Linked DNA regions of Homo sapiens: region 1 is linked to region 2. The links are contacts of gene promoters, found by promoter capture Hi-C in blood cells and fetal thymus (Javierre and others, 2016). All regions are on one chromosome and are shown on one strand. Each heading gives the region's core, a stretch centred on a gene start or on the middle of the fragment in contact. The rest is flanking DNA. Distances are from core to core; before and after follow the strand shown.

Region 1 (7,156 bases), core at 3,116-5,615, 610 kb before region 2:
TGGTTTTTGCTTGTAAATTGGTTTATGTTCCTTATAGATGTGGGATATTAGAGTCTCTGCTTTTTAAATACTCTTTTCCCAGTGGATACTTTTTTTTTACAGACAGGAATCTTGCTATGTTGCCCAGGCTAGAGTGTCATGGCTATTCACAGATGCAATCATTATGCGCTACAGCCTCGAACACCTGGGCTCAAGCAAACCTCCTGCCCTCAGTCTCTTGAGTAGTTGGGACTACAGGCACCTGCTATTGTGCCTACCTTCTTTCCGTTTGGTTGACGTGAGGGGCTCAAGTTCTGGTTCCTGCCAGAGGTTGTGTCCCACTATTTATGGATGAGAGGCTGGCCTCTGCCTTTAGTGAAGACATAAATATTGAGACAAATACATACAACAATCTTACATTTTACACTATTTCACACAGCTTATAGTTTTCCTCTCCCTTTTGCCTTTAGCCATAAAGTTGACTTCTTTCTTCAGAAAGAAAATAGCTGTCAGCCGGGCATGGTGGTTCATGCCTATAATCCCAGACATTTGAAAGGCTGAGGCAGGTGGATTGCCTGCAGGAGTTTGAGACCAGTCTGGCCAACATGGGTTTAGTAGAAACCCTGTCTCTAATAAAAATACAAAAATAAGCTGGGAATGATGGTGGCACCTGTAATCCCAGCTGCTCAGGAGGCTGAGGCAGGAGAATCACTTGAACCAAGGAGGCAGAGGTTGCAGTGAGCTGAGATCATGTCATTGTACTCCAGCCTGGCTGACAAGAGCGAGACTCCATCTCGCTCTTCCCCCACCCCAAAAATAGCTGTCAACTGCAAAGACCTGCACCCCCACTCACATGAGTGCACACCCTATAGCGTTGCTTGAGACATTGTCAGAATAAATGCCAATCCCAACCTTTATTCTTCCAGCTCCCTCACTGTCATCTCCTGCAACAATACATGTTCTTTGACCTCCTCAAGGCCACCTTTACCAGAGTCCAGGTCTGTCCCTGACACTTATGAGGCCCCTCCTCTGGGCTGGTTCTTCTCTTCCGATCCCTGGCTTTGCTCTGCATTGCAAGGGACTTTAGGTGCAAGGGTATGGACATGCCACCTATAGGTCCCTCCACATCTGCTGACCCGGTAGTCCATTGGCCACCACTAGGGGTGTGCACATCATTGAGGGGTTCCACCCTTGGGAGAATGAGCCTGTGGAAGAGGCCCACTGAGGCGTTGGAAGTAGGAAATTCAGGGGACCTGTGGTCTAGAGCAGCCCTGTCTAAGAGAACTATAGCACAAGTCACATGCAGAAGTCTACATTTTCTAGTGACCACATTAAAAGCAGTAAAAAGGAATAGGTAAAATGAACTTAAATGATATATTTTATCTTTTTTTTTTTTTTGAGACAGAGTCTCATTCTGTCACCCAGGCTGGAGTACAGTGGCATGATCTCGGCTCACTGCAACCTCCACCTCCTGGGTTCAAGCGATTCTTCTGCCTCAGCCTCCTGAATAGCTGGGATTACAGGTGTGCACTATCACACCCAGCTAATTTTTGTATTTTTAGTAGAGATGGGGTTTCACCATGTTGGCCAGGCTGGCCTCGAACTCCTGACCTCAGGTGATCCACCTGCCTTGGCCTCCCAAAGTCCCGGGATTACAGGCGTGAGCCACCATGCTCAGCTAATGAAGATTTTTTAAAAAGATGGTTTTACCTCCTGTTTCTCACATAAAGTCTTCAAAATCTGGTGTGTGTTTCATCCTTAACAGCATATCTGAATTCTGACCAGCCACATTTCCAGTGCTCAGTAGCTACCCGTAGCTACAGAAAGGGACAGTATAGGAAATGGGTGGGTACAGGCATCTGAAGGCACATCCCTGAACCTGCAGAGAACTGCAGCCTGGGGAGAGCAAAGCAGGCCCAAATACAGGGTGGCGCTGTCACCTTTTCTAAATCTAATAGCCTCCTTTTGTCTCACTGTATTCTAAATCTACCCCAGACCTCTCGACAACAGTCCTGCTCCTTTGCCCTTTTCACCACTCCAGCCTACCAACACTTCTATTTCCTTTCAAAATGAGGAACGTGGAGGAGTTGTTGGAGGAAAACACAAAGCTGTTGGAATCTGAAGTCTCCACCTTCAGGAGTATTGGATTTTATTTTTTTATTCTTTATTCTTTATTTTTATTTTTTGGGGGTGGGGATGGAGTCTTGCTCTGTCACCCACGCTGGAGTGCAGTGGCGCGATCTCGGCTCACTGCAACCTCCGCCTTCCAGGTTCAAGCATTCTCCTGCCTCAGCCTCCCGAGTAGCTGGGACTACAGGCGCATGCCACTGTGACCGGCTAATTTTTGTCTTTTTAGTAGAAATGGGGTTTCACCATTTTGGTCAGGTTTGTCTTGAACTCCTGAGCTCAAGTGATCCACCCGCCTCAGCCTCCCAAAGTGCTGAGATTACAGGTGTGAGCCACCACACCTAGCCAGGAGTATTGGTTTGATGATGAGGATGGTCCTGGGTGGCTGCAGTAAAGAAATTGGAGCCAATGTGATAATACAGACAATAAATTATCTATAAAACATTATGTAAATCAGCCTCAAGGCAGTTCTTAACCTGCTCCCAGAAGAATGATGTGAAACACTGAAGAAACTAAGTAGCCCCTCCAAGTCTCAGTTTCTAAAATATGGCTGATAATAGTAACAAACATGTATACTTTTCTATGTGCCAGGGATGTTTACATGCTTCACATACATTAATTAACTTATTGTCACAAAAGTTCTATTTTTGTTCTTATGAGTGAGGAAGAAAGCACAGAGAGGTGAAGAGACTTGCCCTAGGTCACACAACCAGTATGTGGAAGAACTGGGATTTGAACCCAGCCATTCTACCTCTAGAACTATGCACTAAACTGAAAGAATGGATCTACAGCACTTAGCAGACTCCTTGGCACATAGCAAGTGCTCAGTAAGTCATAGCTGCTACTTCCTCAATCCTGAAGATGGCGGTAAAAGTGGGTCATGTGTGGTAGAGGTATGGGTGAGAGGTCTCACGAAATCACACACAAACCTCACCCTCAACACCAGTATCTGAAGTCATTCTTTCAGGTTTACAGCAGTGGTCCTCAAGTACTTCCTCTGTCTGTACAACCTCAGGGCCACTTCTCAGTTTAGTCAAATAATTAAGTGTTCGTATATCTACTGTGTATTTTTGAGGACATAAAGTTCTGTTTTAAAAATTCAAAAAAAAATCTAGAATTAAAACTAAAAACATGAATCATGGTTTTTTTTATTTGCAACTAATAAGTCTTGCCTCCCTTCATTTGGTTCTGGACAAACAGAGGGTCCTTCCTCGATGGGTGGTGGAATCAGAAGATCCTTCTGCCCTTTGTGAAGACCATTCGACCTTTTAGCCAACTACTGAACTATCCACACTAATGGTGATTATTGGCATGGGAATATGGTGGCTTAGGAAACAGGAACAAATGCCCAAGAAAAGATGCATTATTATTGGTCCACAGAATAAAGTTTAAGCTTTGTTTGAGGAAACAGTTTTTCTTTTACTAGATATCTTAGTTAGGCTAGTTTTAAAATTCATCTGTATTTCCTGAGCATATACAAAGCCAAGGGGGAACGACCCAGTGGTTTCTAAAATACAAAGAATATTAGCCAGTCATCAGGAATTTCTCTCAGGGAAAGGTGAAGACCAGATGGGATGATGGAAGCACTGTACTTGGGACATAAAACATCTGAGACTAAAATCTTGCTGGATCCTCAAGTGGGCACAGACAAAAAGTGTCGACATCCAATGCTTCCCTGAACCTATTTACTCCCATACTTACACAACTTGGCCATGCCATATGACCCAGTCAGCTGAAGTACAAGGTAGTCATTTTTTCCAAACATATGCCTGCCTTTATTTCTACATCAGTAATTGAATCAACTCTGAGGATTCATAGAGTTGCTGAAAACACCAAATCCTCTTGAGCCTTAACCCATTCTTTTAAAACCACGTGGAGTGTATGTAGTCATTCCACAGACAGCACATCGACATGGCCATACCCTTAGATCACTGAAACGTGTCTCACGCTATCCGGAGGATATGTTCATATCTCTCTGCCAGCTCCAGTAGTAACTGACAGTTGATGCTATCAACTCCCAATTCCTCCTCGAGAAAAGGAAGAAGATACTTTAAGGTGTTCCCTTCAGTGGTATAGTCATTGATGATTCTTTACTTAGTGAAGAAGGATTAAGACTTTGGACCTGGGGGTAAAAACACACCCTGTAGAAGCATAGTTTTATACCAGCTGAATGTATGTTACTGAACATGAAATCACAATCATCAGAATTGAGTCAAGTTTGAGAAGGCTCTCTGTATATCCCCTCTAGGCTAATTCCCATAGCTGGAGCTCTCAGGAGGTGGGCAAGCTACCATTAATAAAACTGTCGTCCAAATTTCTTAAAATAAAATTTAACTCTGAGTTTTTGTTCATTCCTTCCTAATTCACTAGGGATAGCAATACTGTGTATATAGCAAGTCAATTCTGATTACTGAGGTTGTTGGTATATTTCTCAGGGAGGAACTAAAATTAGGTTTAGGTTTAAAACTGAGCCAAGCCACTCATGTGAGAAGTTTAAGTAAAAAGTGCCAGAATAACATACAAAAGACACTTCAAAAGAAAAAAAAATTAAAAGTAGCAGGACATATTTAGTTCATCATATAAATTGACTGGCAGGTTAGAGTTGCAAGATATCAGATTATTTGATCTATATAATTTTACCACCTAGGGTTACACATCATTCCCATGGCAAAGTAGGTACATTCTCATGGTTGCTGACCACTGGCAACATACTTGGTGACCAAGGGCAGAGTAGTCTGGGAAATAACAGGCCCCTGAAATTAATTGGGTCTCCCTTCTTACCCTCAATGAAAGTGCAAAAACTTCCAGTATTCCAGTGACTCCCCGTGTAGCTTCTCTCCGAGGTAGTATAGTTCTACTACAATCCCTAGACAACCGCTCTGTTAAGACAGAGACTCATTTTATCTGTGTGGCACTGAGTAGTTTCATCTTTTACCTGTGACAAAGGATAGCGACTTTGGCATGCCCTCCCAGGCTGGCAGTCCCCGTTGTGATGGTTCCTGTACCTGAGCTATGGTGACGAGGTGACTGTGATGATCACCCGCAGGCCAGGGCTGGCTGTAGGACCTTGAATGAATCTAGCAGGTTTTCTGCTTTGGTGAGAGTCATGTTGGCTACAAAGCTTCCCAGGTTCATGGTCTTATTCTGACTCAGAAACACCCCTGTGTATGAAATGCTGGTCACTGGCTTAGAGGAGGGTTTAGACAACAGAAGCTGATTACAGTGTGCAAGGAGAAAGGGAAGAGAAATGGGAGGAAATAAGGGGCCTTGGAATGGAATAAGAGAAAGAAAAGACTGCATATTCTGCAGCTATTCACCCTGCTACAAACTGCTGTGCCCAAAGGGCACTTGGGAGATGTGCCTCCCACCCCAAATGAGTACACATTAAACAGTGCAGAAGTGGAATATGCTGTCTGGAGCGTGTGTGTATGTGTGTGCTCATCAGGGGAGCTATTACATCCACCTAGTCCTATTTTCCTGCAGCATGGACCACAATAAGAGCACATGAGCCCTAGAGCACAGCGACTGGAAGATCGACAGCCCAAGACTAGAGGTGGTCCCACAGCCTCTGCAGACCCAAAGATACACATTTAAATTCCCTCTCTGGAGATACCCAGAATTTCTTTTGGTGTTTTGGCCACAGCAGCACAGCTGTCAAATGTGATAATGCAGCACAGTAATGCCAAAAAAATAAAATATCAAAGTTTGAATTTGAGCTCTAGCACTTTCAAGCACCTCTGTATTTCACATTCTTGTGCATTAAAATGAAGATAGAAATACTTGCCTTGCCTACCTCACAGGTTGCTCTAAAGATTATATAAAATAGCATCCTTGAAACATGTAAATGATAAAGTATGTATTAACATGAAGTATTATTGGTTATTCCTAGATCCCAGCTCCCTCTCCCTCCTTCCCTTTTTTCCTTCTTTCCTCCCCTCCCTCCCTTTCCTTCCTTCCTTCCTTCCTTCCTTCCTTCCTTCCTCCCTCCCTTCCTTCCTTCCTTCCATCCTTCCTTCCTTCTTACATTCCTACTATCTTCTAAGATCTCCAAAGGCTAAGTGCTAAGCAATGGGGAGTTTGGCTTGCATCACTGGAAGTTATTGTTCAAATCATCTCTGAATGAATTCACTTATACCTCCTCACATTTAAACTGAAGGAATCATAAAGTAACAAACACTAACAGGAAGGAATAGAGGCACAGCAAGTTCATATGGCATATTTAGAACTCATTTATTATATAGAAAAGCATCTTTCAGATTTTCTAGACTAATAAATATTTTGTCCCTTTCTTCAGTTTTTGGTAGTTCTTTAAAATCTGTTTCTTCAAAACCTTTTGACTTTGGAATTAGGATCTTTAAGGTGTTGTACCAATAAATTTAGAAAAAGACTTCTGTCATTACATGATGTCTAAGCCAGTACAAACTAGACAGGGAAAATACAGCCCTGGAACAAGCTGAATCTTGTAGTTCATTTGTGGTTTTAAAATGATTAACTTGTGGGAAAGGAAAATCAATTATACTGTAATAAACCTTATTACAGAGAAAAGCTTTAAAGCAAGCACATGTTTAATTAGTAACCTAGACATTATTACTCACTCACAGCCTTCCTTGCCTTTCATGTGGTAATATATGTAATTTATTAACCATTTTGGAAAATCTGTTTTGCCATGAAGCTCCAGTTCCAGTAAATGTAATACAATCCAGAGGATTGAGAAGGAGAGGGTGATGAAGCGTATAGACCCCTAGTCTAGTGTGACTCTAAGACACTGCTATTTCAGTGGGCAAACATTTGAGTATCCCCTAGGTTGTCCTTAAGCCTAGTTGAATGAGCAAGATAGGCGGGGACCCCTCTATTCTGTTACCAATGATAAAATTGCGCTCTATCAATTTTACTGACTGGAGAAGAGTGCTTACTAAAGGCCTAGCCGACCTTACACGTTCAGATAGAATTCTCTTTTCCTCTTCTACAAAGCACATTGCTTTTACTTTTCTTCCAGCATTTGTGTCTCCCATTAGCTTGCAGAAGCATTGTGGGATCACATCTTGTGCCT
Region 2 (6,956 bases), core at 1,484-3,983:
TTTGAGTTTGCAAACCCCTTACACAAATCTTATCCTAAAGAAGCTTTAGGTCAGGCGTGGTGGCTCACGCCTGTAATCCCAGCACTTTGGGAGGCCAAGGAAAGCAGATAACTTGAGATCAGGAGTTCGAGACCAGGCTGGCCAACATGGTGAAACCCTGTCTCTACTAAAAATCCAAAAAAAAAAACCATCGGGCGTGGTGGCACGCACCTGTATTTCCAGCTACTCAGGAGACTGAAGCAGGAGAATCACTTGAACCCGGGAGGTGAAGGTTGCAGTAAGCCAAGATCACACCACTGCACTCCAGCAAGGCATATATTTGTGGAAATTTAGGCAACAACTATACAATAAATATACACAAATATGCCAAGATGTCAACCCTAGATCACTTCAACCTCTGTCCTAATCATTTCCAACACCTAGATGCAACCCTGCAGACTGGGACCAGCATCACTTAAGACTCCTCTGCCATCCCTTAGCAATAGGCTCAGCTCCCTAGCCCATGCCCTATGCACCTCTTCTAAACCTTCAACACCTTCCTCAAATTTCTCCACTGCACTCCATCTCATTTTCAGTCAATTACTTTGCCTTCTGTTTCTCAAAGAAAAGAGACATCATTGAGCAGGAACCTTCTCACGTTCTCATATCCAAGCCGTTTTGGCTCACAACCTACTTGCTGTCTCAGTTAAAGACTTGCCCCCTTATGGGATCCTACACTGTCCTACTGCCTCAGAAATCTTGTTCTTAATCCCATCCCCTCATTGCTTCAACTCTCATTCCTGTCACTCTCGACTGGCCTTTTTCCTTTCACATAACCATGCTTAAATCTATCTCAACTTTCAAATGAAAGAAATTTTTAAAATTCTCTTTCGGCCGGGTGTGGTGGCTCATGCCTGTAATCCCAGCACTTCAGGAGGCTGAGGCGAGTGGATCACGAGGTCAGGAGACTGAGACCATCCTGGCTAACACGGTGAAACCCCGTCTCTACTAAAAAAAATACAAAAAATTAGCCGGGTGTGGTGGCATGCACCTGTAGTCCCAGCTGCTCAGGAGGCTGAGGCAGGAGAATCGCTTGAACCCGGGAGGTGGAGGTTGCAGTAAGCCGAGACTGCACCACTGCACTCCAGCCTGGGTGACAGAGTGAGACTCTGTCTCAAAAAAAAAAAAAAAAAATCCTCTTTCAACCACACTTTCCACTCTAGCAACTACCCTGTATCACCCCTTCTCTTCACAGCCAAGCAAACTGGACATGTGTGTATGGTTAATGTCTCCATTTTCCCTCTCCCATTTACTCATTAAGTCAGCATCACTTAAAACTGCTTTCGGTGTTAATAACACCAATGGCTTTTTTGCTAAAACCAATGGAAATGTTTGCATCTGACACTGGGACACACTTCCTCTTAGAAATGTCCCATTCCCTGGGCTTCTCTGATACCAAGCTCTTGGGATTCTTCTTTCATTTCTAGTGGTTCCTTCTCAGATTGGCTCAGTCCCCAGCCTCTCCTCTTCTGACTCATTCATTTAACCTACCAAGAAGGCAACCTCCCCAGTCCCAGGGCTGTTGGGCATCCCTACCCTTTGGGCATGCAGCACATCCATTTTTCTGACACTGGAGGGCAAGTGTGCCTTTTCTTTCTGCCTCCCGCTAGACAGTAAGCTCTTTTAGAATGGCAACTATTAATATGTTTCATCTCTGTACCTGCCCTCCCACTCATAGCATCTGCAGAGCTTGGTATATGGGGTAGACACGAAGACTTCCCGTTGAAGAAGTAAATGACTGAGACCTGAGTGACCACAGTACTTCTATCAATTTTATATTAATGACCACAGAGTCAGCTCAGTGATTGATTAGTATCAGGCTTTGGAGTCAGACATCGGGGGTGCCCAATACCAAGCAGTCCGGTAACCAGAAGCATGACCTTGCACAAGTAAATCTCCAAGAGCCTCAGTTTCCTCATTGTCAAATGGAGATAATTATGGTACCTGCTTCTTAAGATTATGATAATTAAACGTGAAAAATACATGTAAAGTCTTCAGAGACAAACCTAGCACATAGCAGGTAGCAGTACTTAATGTTAGCAATAAATAATAGCAAATAAAGTCAATATTTAATATTATTGTTACGTTAGCATCAGGTACATGCCTTCGACAATGTATTGATCAGAGTAAGAGCACTACTAGGTTTCCATGCTGATCACCAGGAAGACAACCAAAAACTGCTGTCTTCCTACCACCGCTTGGAAACATGCGTCCATTTGCTCATTAAACGTTTTACTTCCTTCCTGTGCCAGAGCTCTGCCTTAGGCTCTGTCCTGAAATTTATTTGGCACCTGCAAAGGCCCAGTGATAACTCTTGGCAACCGAATCAAAATGCCACAACTTCACAATTCCACTGGCTCACTCCAAACGTGAAATAGAAATTGAGCACCTGGAACCTATCTAGAGCCTGCTTTTGGGCCCTGGTGTTTGATAACTGCGCCCCACCCACTGACTCTCAACCTCTGCAGCGCCCCGGGCTCTAGCCCTAAGCGCCCCTCGGCCAGCCGCTGGCACATCTCTTACACCAGGGGAGGCGCGCGCGCGCGCACACATACACACACACACACGCACACACACACACACACACACCAGCCTTCCTTGCCCACCTGCTGCCCAGAGGCCGACGACGCATGCACCAGCAAGGACAAGCCCAGTCTTTTCAAGCGACACCTGTCGCCTGGCCTTTTCCGTGCCGGAGGGCGCGAGTCTCACGCTGTCTTTTAAATGCGTCACCCAAATCCCCACCCCTATCTGTACCAGGCGTTCCGCACTCCTCCCAGTGGTTTGCATGTGCACTGGTGCTTTCCTTTTAGGACTTAGGGGAACTCCAGCGGTAATAACCACACACACTTCCTCTTAATCAGTGGCCTGGCAAACCCACTCGGGGATTTCCATGACCCAAAAGCATGACTCTTAACCGTGGCATATCTTCGCGGCATTTACTGAAAGACATTTGCTTCATTGCTCGTGGGTCAGAGGAAATCTTGATAACAACCCATATAGAGAGGACGATCATTGCTTAGCCTGCCTGGAAAAGGTCAATATGCCCTGTTCTCCACCCTCCATCCGCCATACACTTTACACGTAAAAAGGTTAGGTTTTTCAATCTTCTACTATAGCTGCAGAAGTCCAGCATTTAAAAAAAAAAAAATCGAAACTTTGTGAAATATTTCTATTTATTTTTACTTTTTGTTCTGATCAAGAAAGTAAGAGGTGAAAGGAAATGTAGGGGTATGTGAAAAAAATCATGCAGTTCTCCTTTGCAGTTTATTTTACCATTTTAAAGATTGAAATGGCTTGGTAAATTTTCTGTATGGAAATACTTTTGTTTGGTTTGGTGAGTTGTTTTTTTTTTTTTTTTAATAAGTAGGGTGGAGTTGGCTACTTAAAAAAATCCCTCCTTTATAGCCTTTGATCTCACAGGGCAGGTTTCTGAGTTGCAGTGCCATTCTCAGGGAAACCTGACATCTTTGAGTCTAATTGCACTGCCATATTTCCCTCAACGTTCTCTAAGCAGTAAATTTAAGCAACTTTATCTGAGAGCCATCCGTACCAGGGTAACAGATGGATTTGGAGAGCTCATCTGATTTTCTATCTTCCAGTAGATCAAAGACAATTACCAACCAGAGACAGAGCCCATAAAGATTATTGGAGACTTCATCGTTCTGTGGAAACAGCATCCAGTGCATTCTGCACGCAATTGGACTGAGCTGAGGCATCCTCTTGTTTAGGTGGACTTGGCTGTCCATAGCAGCTGAAGTTCCAGTTGGAATTATTTCAGAAAGACTAAGTGTATTTATCATATGGAGATTTTAATCCACATTTGAGTCTGCTTCAATCAAGACTTTCTAAGCCATTTTCAACTCACTCCTGAGATTATTGAAAATAATTTGCAGGCCTTACACATTTTTGATTATGTACTCACCAGAAGAATTTTGAAAAGCTCTGCATTCCCTTGCCCATTTTTAACTTAACATTAAAACATAAAGCTCTTGTACATGTCAAGAATCTACAAAATGTAAACATAGATATTTTCAGAAAAAATTGATAGAGCACTCTTTTAAATGTATTTGATGGATCCTAATACCATAGTAATTTGACATACATGATCATCCATGAAGCAATTATCAGGTCATCTTTAATAACTGAAAATATTTTATCATTGCCTTTTGTCATTGAACATTCCAATTCCCCTACAGAATGTTAATACATGTTTGTACTGAACATCTTTTATCATCTCTCTGTCACATATCTCTGAAACAAATACATATTAGAACTTGAAATCTATTTTTTTCTCTGGGATCATAAGGATCTAAGTGTTAAAAAAAAAAAAAATTCCTCTTTGACCAGGCATGGTGGCTCACGCCTATAATACCAGCACTTTGGGAGGCGAAGGTGGGTGGATCATCTGAGGTCAGGAGTTCAAGACCAGTCTGGCCAACATGGTGAAACCGGTCTCTCCCAAAAATACAAAAATGAGCCAAGTGTGGTGGTGCACGCCTGTAGTCCCAGCTACTTGGGAGGCTGAGGCACAAGAATCACTTGAACCTGGGAGGCAGAGGTTGCAATGAGTCAAGACAGTGCCACTGCACTCCAGCCCTGGAACAGAGTGAGACTGCATCTCAAAAAAAAAAAAAAAAAATCCTCTTTGATTACATTATCATTGATATTGTTTTCATTACTTTTAAAGCATAATTGGTCAATACAATATAAAAATATCGTAAATGTTAATAACTGCATTACAAATACAATTTAAGGGGGTGGCAGCTTGTATTTTAAGCAAGTTTTTCAAGTGTGCAGTCATGAATATTACCTATAGCTATAATATGTTAGGGTTCAGCACAGATTCTGTTCCTTTTTTCATTTCTACAGACATAAATGTTGTAAACCTTATTTCACAGAAGTAAGTAGATAAGTAGATAGGCCCAGAAGAAACATTATTATGGCAATTTTTTCACAATTTAAAAAATATGTTTTATATTCCAAAAATCATTTAGTGATCTCTAATCAAAATATGTAATTACTTATCAGTAGACAACTCAATTTTGTTGAAATTGGTGGTTTAGAAACCACTGAACTTTTGGTATCCAGATACAGTTGACAGAGTTAGCAAATTAAAACAGAGAACACCTAGTTAAATTTTGGTTTAATATAAACAATGAATGCATTTCCAGTATAAGAATGTATTGTGCAATATTTGGCACCTAGCTATACTAATAAGTTATTCATTAGTTATCTGAAATTTAGATTCAGTTTGGTGTTCTGTATTTTACCTGGCAACCCTATATCCAGATATTAGAGTCATTCATTTTCTCAACACTAATACAGATCGATTATTTCAAATCATCCAGGAGGTTTCTACACCCAGAGAAATATACGATTTTAAAACTCATGATAGGTGAGAGGTGAGCCTGTCTTTTAAGGGAAGACAGAGAACCATTGTGAAAAGGGAGATGAGAAGACAGAACAACCCTGGCAACCTTCACAGTTCTTGTTTTCAAGCAGATCAGTTTTGGGAGAAGCTACATATGGAAGTTGAGAGTGAGACTATTAATTCCTTAAAACTATTTGAGCTCCCACCTCCCTGTTGGTAAGTCTTTGTAAACACCCAGGGGCACACTTACCCCAGTTTAAAAACTATGGCTGGCCAGGCACATTGGCTCACACCTGTAATCCCAGCACTTTGGGAGGCTGAGGTGTGTGGATCACCGGAGGTCAGGAGTTCGAGACCAGCCTGGTCAACATGGCAAAACCCCATTTCTACTAAAAATACAAAGATAAGCGGGTCATGGTGGCAGGTGCCTGTAATCCCAGCTACTTGGGAGGCTGAGGCAGGAGAATTGCTTGAACCCGGGGAGGCAGAGGTTACAGTGAGCTGAGATCTCGCTACTGCACTCCAGCCTGGGAGAGAGAGCAAGAATCCATTGCCAAAAAAGTAAATAAATAAAAATAAATAAAGACCATGGCTTAAGAAATCCCTGAATTGACTGAGTCTCGCGTTTTTCAAACTGGTCATGAGAGCTAGGGTCAGGCCTAGTAGGTTGGAAGCAAATTAACATGTCTGCTTTGCAACATTTTGCACAATTAAAAAAAAAATGGTTTCCCTAGATAAATGTGTATGGGCAAGCACTGTATATATTTGTTCACTGCATTATTCTAGTACTAGTAGAGTGTCTGCTCAAAGGTGCTCAGTAAACCTTTGTTTACTGACTAACAAAAATAGAGCCAATCTATCCAAACTATCCACTTGGGCTTTCTCTATTCTAAACCTGCATCCACATCTTTAATGGTGTAACCTACCTTGCATTTTCTTTCTAACTCTTTGTATATCTCACATACTTTATTAAAAAAACTCCTCTTTTCCTTTCAACATCCAGCTGTTATCCTTGTGCAGGGGGCATGCTAATCTTCTTGGTAGGGTTCCAATTTTAGTATATGTGCTGCCAAAGCAAGCACAGCCTAAATATATTTTCTCTCCAAATACTCTTATTTTCTTCCAAGCCAGTGAATTCCAAGCTCCAAATACTCTTTTCACGACAGAAATACACAAGGAAACCTTTGAGGAAAGTGAAAGCTAGACACAAACTGTATAGCCATTACTATCTTCAGTTTTCTAGGTTTGTTTGTGGTTTTTTTGTTGTTGTTTTCTCATTTTTATTTTTTTGAGACAGAGCCTTGTTCTCAGGCTGAAATGTCACCCAGGCTGAAATGCGGTGGCACAATCTCAGCTCACTATAACCTCAACCTACTGGGCTCAATCAATCCTCCCATCTCAGCCTCCTGAGTAGTTCTGACTACAGTCACGGGCTACCATGCTTGGCTAATTTTTGTATTTTTTATAGAGACAGAGCCTTGCGATGTTGCCCTGGCTGGCCTCTTGGGCTCAAGTCATCTATCTGCCTTGACCTCCCAAAGTG

What was found. Contacts are between HindIII fragments. The CHiCAGO score rates a contact against its expected background, and 5 or more counts as called.
Region 1: a contact is called between a fragment that was not itself captured here and the fragment with the promoter of BIRC3 in region 2, in 2 of 17 cell types (M2 macrophages and M1 macrophages). The highest score is 5.5, in M2 macrophages.

The regions. Positions count from the first base shown.
Region 1 is chr11:102,929,679-102,936,834 of GRCh38, reverse strand. No RefSeq gene overlaps it. Among named protein-coding and RNA genes, the nearest start is that of MMP13, 22 kb to the left of the region's middle. The HindIII fragment of the contact is 1,728 bases long and covers 3,502-5,229 here.
Region 2 is chr11:102,313,261-102,320,216 of GRCh38, reverse strand. BIRC3 (baculoviral IAP repeat containing 3) reads right to left here and starts at 2,733. Exons shown (of 9, transcript NM_001165.5): 1 at 2,646-2,733. It overlaps LOC124902739 (a long non-coding RNA gene), which reads left to right and starts at 2,974. Exons shown (of 2, transcript XR_007062864.1): 1 at 2,974-3,131; 2 at 3,645-4,322. It also overlaps the pseudogene RNU6-952P. RefSeq lists enhancers at 482-561, 1,742-1,941, 2,743-3,102, 3,113-3,182, 2,087-3,286 and 1 more. The HindIII fragment of the contact is 7,438 bases long and covers 46-6,956 here.